5 separate regions of the Homo sapiens genome follow, and all the other regions are linked to region 1. Evidence: promoter capture Hi-C in 16 types of primary human blood cells and fetal thymus (Javierre and others, 2016). All regions are on one chromosome and are shown on one strand. The core of a region is centred on a gene start or on the middle of the fragment in contact, and the rest is flanking DNA. Distances in the headings are between cores, read along the strand shown.

Region 1 (2,700 bases), core at 124-2,623:
CAGGTAACATTACTGATGCTTCTCCCCTTGAGAGATAAGGACCTAAAGCTAAATGTCAGGAGATCTGGGAGGAGGCAGTATTTATGAAGAGGAACCTATGGAAGGTGTCCTGGAGAGGGTGCTCATTAATTAATATCCCGCCTCCGAAGGCCTGCACTGCTCAAGACCCTGCCTTCCATGTCCCTTCTTTCCCCTCCCCCGATCTGGCCGACCTCGCCTCTCCATCTTCCTCCATTTTCAGACAGCACCCCGTCTCTGTCTCTCCCTAGCGAGCTCTGCTCCAGAAGGCGCGGAGTCAACCTTCCCCTATGCTGCCGCTGCCTGTAGCTGAGGGCTGCCCACCTCCCGCCCTCACAGAGGAGATGCTGCTGAAGCGCGAGGAGCGGGCGCGGAAGCGGCGGCTCCAGGCGGCGCGGCGGGCAGAAGAGCACAAGAACCAGACTATCGAGCGCCTCACCAAGACTGCGGCGACCAGTGGGCGGGGAGGCCGGGGGGGCGCACGGGGCGAGCGGCGGGGAGGGCGGGCTGCGGCTCCGGCCCCCATGGTGCGCTACTGCAGCGGAGCACAGGGTTCCACCCTTTCCTTCCCACCTGGCGTCCCCGCCCCCACGGCAGTGTCTCAGCGGCCATCCCCCTCAGGCCCGCCGCCGCGCTGCTCTGTCCCCGGCTGTCCCCATCCGCGCCGCTACGCTTGCTCCCGCACAGGCCAGGCACTCTGTAGTCTTCAGTGCTACCGCATCAACCTGCAGATGCGGCTGGGGGGGCCCGAGGGTCCTGGATCCCCCCTTTTGGCTACGTAAGGCCCTTAACCCGGACTCTGCGCCCCGTCCCATGCCCGCTCTTGAGTATCTTCCCCACCCTATTAAATTACATCCGGTGCTTCGGCTTGTACAGAACTGGGGGAGTGGGATGTTGTGGGCAGACCAGTCTCCGGTATACACGTATTTTGCCCCTGTCGGAGCTTGCGTCGATGCCTGGGGCTTGGAAACCACCGCAAAAAACCAGGCTGCAAACCAGCGGACCGACTTTTGGGACTCCGCCTCTTCCAGCCGGGATTACCTGGCGTGCTTCGGCCTTTGGCGTCATTCCGAAAACATACCGCAAGCCAATCAGCGGCAACCTTGCTCTTCGGGGCGGCTGTTCGTTGGTTGATATGCCAGAGCCTGTTCTGTTGTCTGTATTGGCTATTGCCGCTGTCAGTCAGGGCCGTGGGTCGAACCTTCACCTACTCTTTGTCTGTACAAGCTCTTGTTGTCTGGGTGAGCGGCGGAGGCGCTGCTGTGGATTGGTCACAGGGAGAAACCTCTGATCTGTTCCTATTGGCCCGTCCGTCAAGGGACGATGATGATTGGTAGGGCAGAGCAATCTGAGTCCTAGTTGGTGGAGTTCTGCCCGGATGGAAGCTCCGGCCGCGGAGTGATGGTGGCCTCAGCGAAGATGGGCCGGGCAGGGACCATGGCGGTGGCAGCAGAGGTGGCAGGGGCGGGGCGGCTGGCGGTAGAGGAGGCTGTGGTCCTCAGGGGGCTGTAGGTGGAGGTATGGCTCGGGCCAGCAGCGGGAACGGCAGCGAGGAGGCCTGGGGGGCACTTCGGGCGCCGCAACAGCAGGTATCCCAATAGCTCCAAAACCTATCACGACAGCCATTTGTCTCTTTCCCCTTTCCTTGTCCCTTCCTTTTGGGGGTGGGGGAGGAACTCACGGAGCCAAAGGTACTGTGAAGTTCCTAAACATGTCTCTTCCACTCTTTGTCTAAACTTTGTAACGTAGATGCAGCTGACTTTGCCTGTAGCCTCATAGAACCCATCCCATGGCTGCAGTGGAAGCTTGCGGTGGCTCTCCAGTGACCAGAGGCATAGTGAGGTCCCAGGGAGGCTCCCTCTGTCTTGCAACAGTTATTTGTGATCTTTTTCTATGTGCCTATTGTCACAACAGAGTCCGGCAGCGTCTTCTCTTGAGGGAGCAATTTGGAGAAGAGCTGGAACCCAGACTCGCGCCCTGGATGCCATCCTTTATCATCCACAGCAATCCCATCTGGTTGGGAGCACTGCTCTGGGTCTCACACTGCCCCTCCTCTATCCTAGGGAGCCTGAGGCCCAGGGGTGGAAAGATCCAGTTGCGGGTGGGGGGTAGTGAACCGCGCAGGATAATGAAAGCAACTTGCTTTGGAAATGACCTACCGCTACCCGTTGTCTGAGACTGAGATTATCTCAGACTGTCTTCTGGCTTCTGCCAAAACACTCCCTTAACAGAAAGCACCGAGGGGATGGGGGTAGGGGGGTTGGGGAGAGTGAGGCTTGAGTGTGAAGGAAGTCTCATATATGCAGAGCTGAAATCTCCCTCTTTGTATGTCCACACTTTTGTCTTGTTCTCTAGACTGATTCTTGCTATTCCAAATCCTCTTCCACGTTGACAGCCCTTCAGATATTTCAACACTCCTCTCAGCATCCTCCACTTCCCCCATCTCTCCAAGCTGAACTTGGTTCACAGGGTGGGATTGTGTATGTGCATGCAGGAGGTGGGGGTGGACAGTGCCCTGGGCTGGAATCCCCCTTAGTTCTAAGTGCCTCCTTGCCCGCAGCTTCGAGAGCTGTGCCCAGGAGTGAACAACCAGCCCTACCTCTGTGAGAGTGGTCACTGCTGCGGGGAGACTGGCTGCTGCACCTACTACTATGAGCTCTGGTGTAAGTCTCCAAGAGGGCT
Region 2 (2,700 bases), core at 183-2,682, 540 kb before region 1:
AAAAGTCAGGTGTGATGGTTCACACCAGTAATCCCAGCTACTTGGGACGCTGGGGTGGGAAGATCCTTTGAGCCTAATTCAAACCAGCCTCTGACAAGCGAGACCCTATCAGAGAGAGAGAGAGAGAAACAATGTCCCAGGCACTGAGGGCCTAAGAAGGCAGCCATTACTTATTATGTGTTATATAATGTCTATTGGGTGGTAACTGTGTGGCAGGTGTGGCAGGTGGATTCTCTCTCTTAATCCTCACCCCCAGGTCACTGGAATCCAGAGCCCACACTGTTAACCACCTTTTGATACGTCTCCCTTTATGATTAGGTGTATCAATACAGTTCATTCAGGGGAGCAGAGCCATTATGGGTATTATGGGAATAAGGGCTTTATTACAGGAATGACACTTTCCCCAAAGACTGAAGGAGCTGGAAAAGTGAAAGTCTGCAAGGAACTGTGGGATACTCCAAGAGGAGTCACAAATGGGTGGAGGACTAGGTGAAACCTATCTGCTGGGCACCTCTGTCTGTCATAGCATCTGACTAGAAGATTTCCACAGAGGAATGGCTGACACTCCCACTCTGCCTTCCAAATCTCACCCCAGGTCCTCTTTTGGCCAACTCTAACTCAGAGCCTTGTTGGTAGGGCGTTCTGGAAGTGTACTTTCCAATTTAACCAAATCGATTTAGCACAATCCAGCACATTATAAAATCTTCAAAGTAGGTGAGATATAGCTGGCTAAAAGTCCAGGCTGCAGAATAAAGTTTGGGCCACATTTTTGTATGTTTATCTCCCTTTTTTAATGGCTGCATGACATTTTAAATAATATTGGTCAGTATTTTATGTATACGGTAGCATTTAGAAACACTGGAAAAATAGTAAATCCTTCAGAGCTGCACTTCAAGGACTAAGCAGAGTGTCTGGCATGCAGTAGATGCTCAGCAAATATTGGATGAATGAATGGATGCTGAATGACTAGAGTTCTTGCAGGACAACATTTTGCCCAGGACAAAATCGCCCAGGGGCAGGAAGTGGCCTCGTTCTCCCAGGTAAGGGGGAGGTAATTCTACTCACCAATATGCCACTACTTTCAGTCTTCTGGCTAGCACCCAAATGGGATGAAAACTCCGTGTTTACTGCTTCGAAGAGGAAATGATCACCACCTCTTTGGGGTGTCTTCTTTCCTCATGAAGATCCCCTTAATTGTACTTCCTCATGTGCAAAAGTGGGGCCCCAACCCTCTTCCTTGGCCACAGCTGATTGAACCATGATTAGATACCTGAACACAGCTGGGCCAATCAGATTCTCCCTTCTGGGAATTTGGAATTGGGACCTAAATAAATAAAAAACATTTAACAAAACAAGCATAGATAACTAAAGGGGGGTAGAAAGATTATTACTAATGAATTAAGATAACTGACAGGCAACTTAGGCAAAAGATATTTTAGTTTCTTACATTACACTCTACATCAAAAAAATTTTGAATGTTTTTAGAGGCTGGGTGCTGTGGCTCATACCTGTAATCCCAGCACTTTGGGAGGCAGAGGTGGGTGGATAACTTGAGGCCAGGAGCTCAAGAGCAGCCAGGCCAACATAGCAAAACCCCGTCTCTACTAAAAATACAAAAAATTAGTCGGGCATGGCACATGCCTGTAATCCCAGCTACTTGGGAGGCTGAAGCATGAGAATCGCTTGAATCTAGGAGATGGAGGTTGCAGTGAGCCAAGATTGCCCCACTGCACTCCAGCCTGGGCAAGAGACTCTGTCTCAACACAAGAAAAGAAAAGAAAAGAAAAGAAAAGAAAAGAAAAGAAAAGAAAAGAAAAGAAAAGAAGCAAACCACAGAGATAAAATATTCACAAAGGACTCATCCAGAATATTTGAAGAATAAGACAAGCAAAAGACAACCAATAGAAAAATGGACATAAGACTTCAACAGAGGATACTGAAATGACCAATAAACATACAAAAAGATGTTTGACTTCATTAATCAGCAGGAAAATGCAAATTAAAACCACAATAAGTTATAATTACACACAGCAAAATGGATAAAATTTAAAAAGCTGACAATATCAACTGTTGGTAAGAATGTGGGAAAACCAGAACTCTCTCTCACTGATGATGGCAATGTCAACTAGAACAAACACTGTGGAACTATCTACTATTTGGGAATATCTATCAAAGCTGAGCATATATATGTAACTTATTACACAGCAGTTCCAGTCTTACTTATACACCCAAGAGAAATGCATACTTCTTTTTACCAAAAGACATGTACAAGAATATTTACCGCAACACTATTCATTATGGCTCAAATCTAGAAACTTCCGAGTACATTGTGGTATAGTGACATTGTGGAATACTATACAGCAATGAGAATGAGTGAACTACAACTAATACATTCAACCTGGATGAATCTCACAGATATGTTAAATAAAAGAAGTATTTACTATATAATTCCATTTATATAAAGAAAACGCAAAACTAATCTCTACTGTTGAAGTCAGGCTAATGGTTATCTTTGAGGGATAGTAACTGGCAACGAATATGGGGGATTCTGGAGATGCGGATAATGCTGTTTCTTGATCTGAATCCAGGTAACAGTCATTCCATTTGTGAAAACTTCATTGAACTGTACACTTACAACACATCCTCTTTTCCTCACTGCACAACACATCCTCTTTTCCTCACTACATACTATGCTTTACC
Region 3 (2,700 bases), core at 88-2,587, 700 kb before region 1:
AGGTGAAGTTAAAGGTGTTCTCGGTTCTTAACTCTGCTACCTTAATACCTCCAGAGAAGGAGCCAGGGCCCATACAAAATTGCCTTCCAATTAATGAGCAGGTCTTTCCAAGGCAACCAGACCTGGCAGATCAGCCCCTGCTGTGCTCCAAACTAGGACTGTTCACAGATGCAAGCAGCTTCATGGACCATGGACATCATCATGCTGAATTTGAGGTCATTACCTTACAAGGAATTAAGGAAGCCAAAGCCTTATTGCTAGGCACCTCAGCTCAGTGGGCCAAGGTGCCCTTATGCATGCCCTCCAATTGGGTAAGAAAAAAAATTATGAATATTTACATAGACTCCCAATATGATTTCTTGGTGGCACATGCCCACAGAGCTATGTAGAGAGAGGTCTTTTGACTAGCAAAAATAAAGAAATCAAATATACTTCTGATATTTTGGCCTTATTAGAATCTGTAAAAGGCCAGGCATGGTGGCTCATGCCTATAATCCCAGCACTTTGGGAGGCTGAGGCGGGTGAATCACCTAAGGTCAGGAGTTCAAGACCAGCCTGGCCAACATGGTGAAACCTCGTCTCTACTAAAAAATATAAAAATTAGCCAGGCACGGTGACACATGCCTGTAGTCCCAGCTACTTGGGAGGCTGAGGCAGGAGAATCACTTGAACCCGGGAGGCAGAAGTTGCAGTGAGCCGAGATTGTGCCACTGCACCCTAGCCTGAGCAACAGAGTGAGACTCTATCTAAAAAAAAAAAAAAAAAAAAAAAAAAAAAAAAAAAAATCAGTAAATGCCCCCTCTAATAGTGGCTATCATCCACTGTCCCAGCCATCAAAAAGGAGACTCCCGAATAGTCAAAGGAAATTAGCTTGCCGACCTGGCAGCCAAGCAAGCCACAAAAACATTGGACTCTGAGGCTTTCTTAGCCCCACTAATACCTCACAATGATCTGACCAAGTTCCAACCTTGCTATACCAAAGGAGATTTAAAGTGAGCCAAGGAATGGGGATTCACATCCCAGCCCTGGCCCATCCAGGCTGGAAATGTAATCTGGAAGGTATCGTATTGGTTCCCAGTGCCCTCCTTAAAGATATAGTGAGCTAGTTTCATCAAAGCATCCATTACAGAAAAGATGCAACCCTTCAATGGCATGTGAGTTCTTGATTGACCCCGACATGCAATGGGGTCATTCAAAATGTGATCTATCAATGCATGCTTTGTGCCCAAACTGCCCTAAAACTGACCCCACCCCTGTTCAAGGGTACAACATTGAGGAGACTCTCCATGCAAGGACTGGCAAGTTAATTTCACCACAATGCCACGGGTGCCTGGAGGCTACAGGGCATCTTTTTGTACAAAAAACATCTTTTTGTTTTTTGTAGACACATTTACAGGATGGGTAGAGGCATACCCTATCCGAACAGAAAGGGAGCTGAAGTGGCCCACACTATACTAAAGAGATAATTCCCCAGTATGAACTCCCTTTGACGATTCAGAGTGACCATGGTGCGGTGTTCATCTCTCAGGTAGTACAGGAAGTGTCTCAAGTCCTAGACATTGAATGGAAACTTCATGCAGCACAGCCACAGCCCACCGGAAAGACTAAAAAACTGAATCAAACTATTTAAAGAACAATTAGGCCAGGTGTGGTGGCTTATACCTGTAATCCCAGCACTTTGGGAGGCCAAGGCAGGTGGATTATTTGAGCCCAGGAGTTTGAGACCAGCCTGGCCAACATGGCAAACCCCATCTCTACTAAAAATACAAAAAAATTAGCTGGACGTGGAGGCGCATGCCCTTAGTCCCAGCTGCTTGGGAGGCTGAGGCACACGAATTGCTTGAAGCCGGGAGGTAGAGATTGCAGTGAGCCGTGATCATGCCACTCCACTCCAGCCTGGGCGACAGAGTGAGACTGTCTCAAAAACAAAAAAAACAAAAAAACAAAAAAAAAAAACTGCTGCTAAAGTGTGCCAGGAAACTAATCTAACTTGGGACAAAGTACTACCTTCTCTCCTGCTGAGGATTTGGGTCATTCCCTGAAACAGGCTCTAGTTGAGCCCTTTAGAAATTATGTATGAGAGACCCTTCCTAGCCACATTGGGGCTAGATCAGGCTATAAAATCTTAGAAAGGGAAGGAGCTATTAGACATTATTTAAAATTGCTAAATGAAATACCGACTTCTGTTCATGAGTTTGCTTCTTCCCCATGGACAGGCCACCTCACCCTTTCTAGGCTAGAGACCAAGTTCTACTTAAAACCTGGAGGGAGACTGGACTGAATCACCAACTAGCCCCTCAAAGGGTAAGACCCTATGAGGTCCTTCTGACCACGCATTCATCAATTGGGCAGGAGTTAAACCGTGGGTACATTATACCTGGATAAAAATTGCCCCCGCCTCAGCCCGACCTATCAGGTTAATAGACCTGAAAGGACATGTGAACCAACTAAAAACCTGAAGCTGCTTTTGAAGAAAACATCCACAGATAAGTAAAGCCTTCTTGCTAAGCACCACAGTACTATATGGCTTACGGTGTCTGCTGAAACCAATCTTTTCCTACAATGGGCACATTATGCAGATAGCCTACAGAAGCTCGTAGGGTTTGAGGGCTGTTACCTATCTCTAGCATGTTGGTATTACCTTGGTCGGTCTTGCTCTTACAAGGAAACAACTGAGTACAGTAACAAACTTTTATGAAA
Region 4 (2,700 bases), core at 94-2,593, 730 kb before region 1:
GGGTTAAACCTCAACTCTCTGTCCAGAGCTCTCTTCACTATTATTTGGGTTTATTACTAACCACTGGCTTGCAGGAATTTAGCCTCCAACCCAACACTGAGGAACACATATGTTATTATGACACGGTCAACAGAAATAGGAAAGTGCACATTACATTGTTATTTGGGGAAAGGTTGAAAATAATTTCAGTAGATAGAGTTCTTGTCTTCATTTTTCCCAGTTTGTAGAGGTGAACTGCTTTGTTTGCTGCCACAAGTATCTGAAATGGATCAACAATCTACCAAAGCAAGGAAAAAGAATTAATTACACATGGAGAATCTGCAGTGCCTGAAAACACATGGTAACTCATGGTTAACTCCAGTGTCAAGCTGTTTTACTTCATCACAATTCTTACGGTCTGTATTTTCAAAACTATTATCCCGGCTGGGCACGGTGGCTCACACCTGTAATCCTAGCACTTTGGGAGGCCAAGGTGGGTAGATCACCTGACGTCAGGGTTCAAGACCAGCCTGGCCAACACGGCGAAACCCTCTCTACTAAAAATACAAAAATTAGTCAGGCGTGGTGGCACGCACCTGTAATCCCAGCAACTCAGGAGGCTGAGGCAGGACAATTGCTTGAACCCGGGAGGCAGAGGTTGCCGTGAGCCAAGATCGCGCCATTGCACTCCAGCCTGGGCAACAAGAGTGAAACTGTCTCAAAAAAAAAAAAAACAAAAAACAACTATTATCCCAAGGGCCTGGGTAGTCAGGAAATCACAGAATTTTAAAGCTGCAAGGAACTTATGCAAATAGTAAAATTTTTTTAAATAACATTAATTGAGGGCTAATATTATGGGCATGATCATATTGCAAACATTTTACTTGTAATATTTTCTTTAATCCTCAAAACTACCCTATGAAATTGACACTATTATTAGTAGTAGTAGCAGTAGTAGTAGTATGTAATTGATGAGGAAATTGAGGCAAAGAATGTCTGGGTTTGAATCCCATCTCTGTCACCTATCACCTAGGAAACTTATGCAAGTTCATTAGCATTTTATTTGTTAGAGACCGATGAAACAGTATTCACTCCATAGGCTGTTGTGAAGATTAAGCAAGTTAGTATACGTAAAGCACTTGGAACAATGCTAGGAATGCAGTAAGCACTATATAAAGGTTGGTTATGTCTTGTTCAAAGGCCTAAGTAGTAGGTCTGGGATTAATTCCCGGTAACATGATCGCACTGCGTGTGCCCTGTTTTTTTGTTTTTTTTTTTTTTTGGAGACAGACAGAGTCTCTCGCTCCATTGCCCAGGCTGGAATGCAGTGGCTCAATCTCAATTCACTGTAACCTCCGCCTCCCAGGTTCAAATGATTCTTGTGCCTCAGCCTCCCGAGTAGCTGGGACTACCAGCACACACCACCACACCCAGCTACTTTTTGTATTTTTAGTAGAGACACGGTTTCACTATGTAGGCCAGGCTGGTCTCAAACTCCGGGCCTCAAGCAATCCACCCACCTTGGCCTCTGTGTGTACTCTTAACCACTACACTATTCCTCCTCTACAGACTGTCTTGTTAGGAACCCCCATTTTAAAGATGAGAAGCTGGAGATCCAGGCATTTCCCATATTAGACCCAGACCACAACCTTTCCTATTTCCTAGGGCAGGACCTGGCACTTCTGCCTCTATTCACTGTTATAGTCAAAGTTGGCTGCATCTGACTTGGACAAGAATTTTTTCCCTAACCGTGACAGATTTTTAGGCTACCCTATAACATCACAAATATTAATGTATACTTAAATGCCCTGTATGGCTCATTCATTCTTTTTTTTTTTTTTTTTTTTTGAGGCGGATTCTTGGTCTGTTGCCCAGGCTGGAGTGCAGTGGCACAATCTCGGCTCACTGCAACCTCTGCCTCCCAGGCTCAAGCGATTCTCCTGCCTCAGTCTCCTGAGTACAGGTGCCCACCACCATGCTCAGCTAATTTTTGTATTTTTAGTAGAGACAGGGTTTCACCATATTGGCCAGGCTGGTCTCAAACTCCTGACCTCATGATCTGCCTGCCTCGGCCTCCCAAAGGGCTGGGATTACAGGCGTGAGCTACCATGCCTGGCCATTTTTTTTTTCCAGACAGAGTTTTGCTCGTCGCCCAGGCTGGAGTGCAATGGCGCAATCTTGGCTCACTGCAACCTCTGCCTCCAGGGTTCAAATGATTTTCCTGCCTCAGCCTCCCGAGTAGCTGGGATTATAGGCGCCCGCCACCACGCCCAGCTAATTTTTGTATTTTTAGTTGAGACAGGGTTTCACCATGTTGGCCAGGCTGGTCTTCAACTCCTGACCTCAGATGATCCACCCGCCTCGGCCTCCTAAAGTGCTGGCATTACAGGCGTGAGCCACCGCACCCAGCAGGCTCATTCATTCTTAAAATTTATATTTACCACTGTAGGATTTATCAGTGATCCATCGATGGTGCCTTCCATGGCCTTTCTTCTCAAGTCTCCCGCATTTTTTACATCTTTAAATAACAGAAGGGTTACCCTGCATTCGGGAAATAGGTCCAGCTGATGTGTTAACTGCATTTCACAGATAAGCAGGATTCTACTGCACACAAAATGAAAAGACCAAAAGATTTCATTTAAAAGTTAACATCAGAACTCATTTCTTAATAAATATTCAAAAACTTTGAAAGTAACTTGATAAAAGTGTTAAACTAGAAAA
Region 5 (2,700 bases), core at 49-2,548, 680 kb before region 1:
GCCATCAGCTGTACCCTCATATCTTAAAAGGTAGTATTTCTGTGACAACAGCTTATACAAATGGGAAAGCCAAACCTCTCAAGTTTTAAAGTTAAAGTACAGGGGAAGATCTGTGAACAAGGTTTAACATAATTAAAAGCTAGTGTCCACATTAAGTGAGCGACTAGGTTACAATTTGAAATTTTATCTTCAAACCCACTGATCCAGTCTCTATCTCTCACCTTCCATTCCCTATCTTCCCACCTCTGTCTCTATTCTTTCTCCACTACTCCATCACATTTTTTAAAAAGGAGTATTTACTGTCAGATTTATGTAACAAAGTGTACACTCCTCAAGCTAAATTTGGAAAGAAGGCAAATGAAGCCTCTGTCCTGTGGGTGTCAGTGGCTTTCCAAAGATAAAAGCTTCTTCAGTCTTAAAATATGACAAATATCATGTTCTTTCTGGCAGAGAGATGCCAGAAAAAGGCAACTGGATCCTTAAGATAAAGAAGCTGTTAAGTTCTATTTTCAAAAGAGTAAGGTAAATCTTAAAGCAGGAACAAGAAAGCACCAGCCTTTGGCTTAAGTTCTCCCATGTGAAGAATAAGAGGTGGTGGTATCCTTCCCCATCTGTACTCAAAGCGGAAAAACAGCAGAAATATCTTTTTTTTAATTATACTTTAAGTTTTAGGGTACATGTGCACAACGTGCAGGTTTGTTACATATGTATACATGTGTCTTAAATACATATGACAAAGGGGCAATTCCACTGGTGCACTCTTTCTTGTTTTGCTTCTAGGGGTCCGTCCCATTCTTAATCTTTGCCCTTTCTTGTCTCTTTCACATAACTCTAAGACTCAGAGTTTTTTAATCTTTTCTTCTACTTCTCACTTCTTAACCAATATAGAAGACAAAAATAACATTTTAATTTTATATATTTCTCATTCAAATTAAAAAAGAAAGATGAGCCAGTTCAGTTCATATTTTGCACTAAAACTAATTTAACATTCCAAAGTTAAATTATTTGTGATCAACAAAAGGAAAAACATCTTACCCTATTAGCACCATCTGACATTTTCATCACCTTAGCATCATTAAATACAACAGGTCTGAGGTTGGAACTATAAAAAAATACCAAAAATCCCCAACCCCATTCATAATGCACACCACAGTTCAGGTAAGAACAAAAACTCACCATTATCTTTATTTTCTTTCAAAAACCCATTAACAGCGTGTTTGAATTTAAAAATAGTCTCATCATCAGGCACTTGATGTCCAACTGTAAAAATTTTTAAGTAAGGAACAGTTTCTGGCAAATCCTATAAAGCAAAACCATAAAAGATGTGTATTATTTCACTTGTAGAGAAATAATTAAAGAGTAATTAGGGGACCCAGAATATAAGCCAAGAGATTATAACAAACTTAATATGCCAATATCAGTATACACAATTCTGATAAAAGAGCCATTTTTTCCAACACTGCTTCAACCAGGAAGTATCACTTGATTTTCAATAAAACTACATAATAGATAGTCACTAGGTATACAAAACTGAAAGCAAATTCCATGTGAATGAATGCATATTTAACTATAAATTATATAAACAGTTCCATTTAATATTTTATAATTCAAGGGCCAGTGCCTTCATAAAGCAGCTATGATTTAAGTAGAAGAGTAGAGAATAGAGTCAGAAGAACTTGGATTTGAATTGTGAGATAGAGGGAATTCCAGGCACTATTGAGAACCGATATTCTTGGGGTGGGAGAAAAGTAGATACAGATAAAAGACAGAAGAGGCTAAGTCAAAATCATTTTAACCATCCACAAGTGTATAGTTCAGTGGCATTACATTCACAGTATTGTGTAACCATCACCACTGTCTATACCCAAAACTTTTTCATCATCCCCGACAAAAAGACTCTGACCACTAAACCATAATTCCCTTTTCTCCCCACCTCATAGATCCTTTAGTCTGCTTTCTGTCTCTGTGAATTTGTCTATTCTAGGTACTTCATACAAGTGGAATCATATATTTGTCCTTCTGTGTCTGGTTTATTTCACTAAGCATGTTTTTAAGGTTCATCCATATTGTAGCACGTATTAAATCTATTCTTTTTTATGGCTGAATAATATTCCATTTAAGACAGCAATTAAAAACATGTAATTAGAGAAATCACTTGGTTCTCTTTTAAACTTACTACCCATCAAAGAAGGCCAAGCTTCACATTAGCACAAGATGATTACTGAATTACTATAAATTATTTTAGGATCAGAAGGAAGAAAGTTCTTTTCATTGAAGGGTTCCACTTACCTCTGGTTTATAATAGCGTTGAGTATATGTTAAATCAATAATCAGTCCAAGTTCTTCATTTTGTTCTCGGATTTTGTTAAAAAGATCCAAAGGGGAAAAGCATTCTTCTGGAGCAAGTTTCTTTTCAAAACTCTGTCACAGAGAATGAAATAAGAGCAAATATGTGCTTAAAATCCTGTACTACATTAGGCATTTATTCAAGTCCTGTGATGCTAACATACAACGAGATTCAAAGGAAAGTTTCCATTCTCCTGGAACATAGAAGGTATATTACAACAATCCTTTCTTCCAGAGTGGTCAGAAAGAAAAAAATAAGCCCACTTCTATATATGTATTTCTGTATTTGTTTCATGTTGGTCTCCTAATCAGACTGTAATCTCCCAGATTTTATTCACCACTGTATCTCCAGCT

What was found. The method cuts DNA at HindIII sites, captures the fragments that hold promoters and counts their contacts. A CHiCAGO score of 5 or more calls a contact.
Region 2: a contact is called between a fragment that was not itself captured here and the fragment with the promoter of WBP1 in region 1, in 2 of 17 cell types (non-activated CD4 T cells and fetal thymus). The highest score is 5.5, in non-activated CD4 T cells.
Region 3: a contact is called between a fragment that was not itself captured here and the fragment with the promoter of WBP1 in region 1, in 2 of 17 cell types (naive CD8 T cells and non-activated CD4 T cells). The highest score is 5.3, in naive CD8 T cells.
Region 4: a contact is called between a fragment that was not itself captured here and the fragment with the promoter of WBP1 in region 1, in 12 of 17 cell types (naive CD8 T cells, non-activated CD4 T cells, total CD8 T cells and 9 more). The highest score is 21.9, in naive CD8 T cells.
Region 5: a fragment that was not itself captured here is called in contact with the fragment with the promoter of WBP1 in region 1 in 8 of 17 cell types (non-activated CD4 T cells, total CD8 T cells, activated CD4 T cells and 5 more); the score reaches 10.2 in non-activated CD4 T cells.

What each region holds. Positions count from the first base shown.
Region 1 is chr2:74,457,065-74,459,764 of GRCh38, forward strand. It overlaps WBP1 (WW domain binding protein 1), which reads left to right and starts at 1,374. Exons shown (of 4, transcript NM_012477.4): 1 at 1,374-1,607; 2 at 2,579-2,681. The coding sequence starts at 1,539. It overlaps INO80B (INO80 complex subunit B), which reads left to right. Exons shown (of 5, transcript NM_031288.4): 5 at 270-880. The coding sequence ends at 800. INO80B-WBP1 (INO80B-WBP1 readthrough (NMD candidate)) reads left to right here. Exons shown (of 8, transcript NR_037849.1): 5 at 270-796; 6 at 2,579-2,681. RefSeq lists enhancers at 177-246, 745-1,251, 877-1,026, 1,252-1,759, 1,697-1,806 and a silencer at 387-626. The HindIII fragment of the contact is 3,318 bases long and covers 1-1,821 here.
Region 2 is chr2:73,921,877-73,924,576 of GRCh38, forward strand. No RefSeq gene overlaps it. Among named protein-coding and RNA genes, the nearest start is that of DGUOK, 3.7 kb to the right of the region's middle. The HindIII fragment of the contact is 4,500 bases long and covers 1-2,700 here.
Region 3 is chr2:73,756,465-73,759,164 of GRCh38, forward strand. No RefSeq gene overlaps it. Among named protein-coding and RNA genes, the nearest start is that of TPRKB, 20 kb to the left of the region's middle. The HindIII fragment of the contact is 3,192 bases long and covers 1-2,700 here.
Region 4 is chr2:73,732,009-73,734,708 of GRCh38, forward strand. It overlaps TPRKB (TP53RK binding protein), which reads right to left. Exons shown (of 5, transcript NM_016058.5): 2 at 2,421-2,583; 3 at 155-277. The coding sequence starts at 2,561. Among named protein-coding and RNA genes, the nearest start is that of TPRKB, 4.0 kb to the right of the region's middle. The HindIII fragment of the contact is 4,504 bases long and covers 1-2,700 here.
Region 5 is chr2:73,772,624-73,775,323 of GRCh38, forward strand. DUSP11 (dual specificity phosphatase 11) reads right to left here. Exons shown (of 9, transcript NM_003584.3): 3 at 2,290-2,421; 4 at 1,177-1,300. Among named protein-coding and RNA genes, the nearest start is that of DUSP11, 6.1 kb to the right of the region's middle. The HindIII fragment of the contact is 1,793 bases long and covers 403-2,195 here.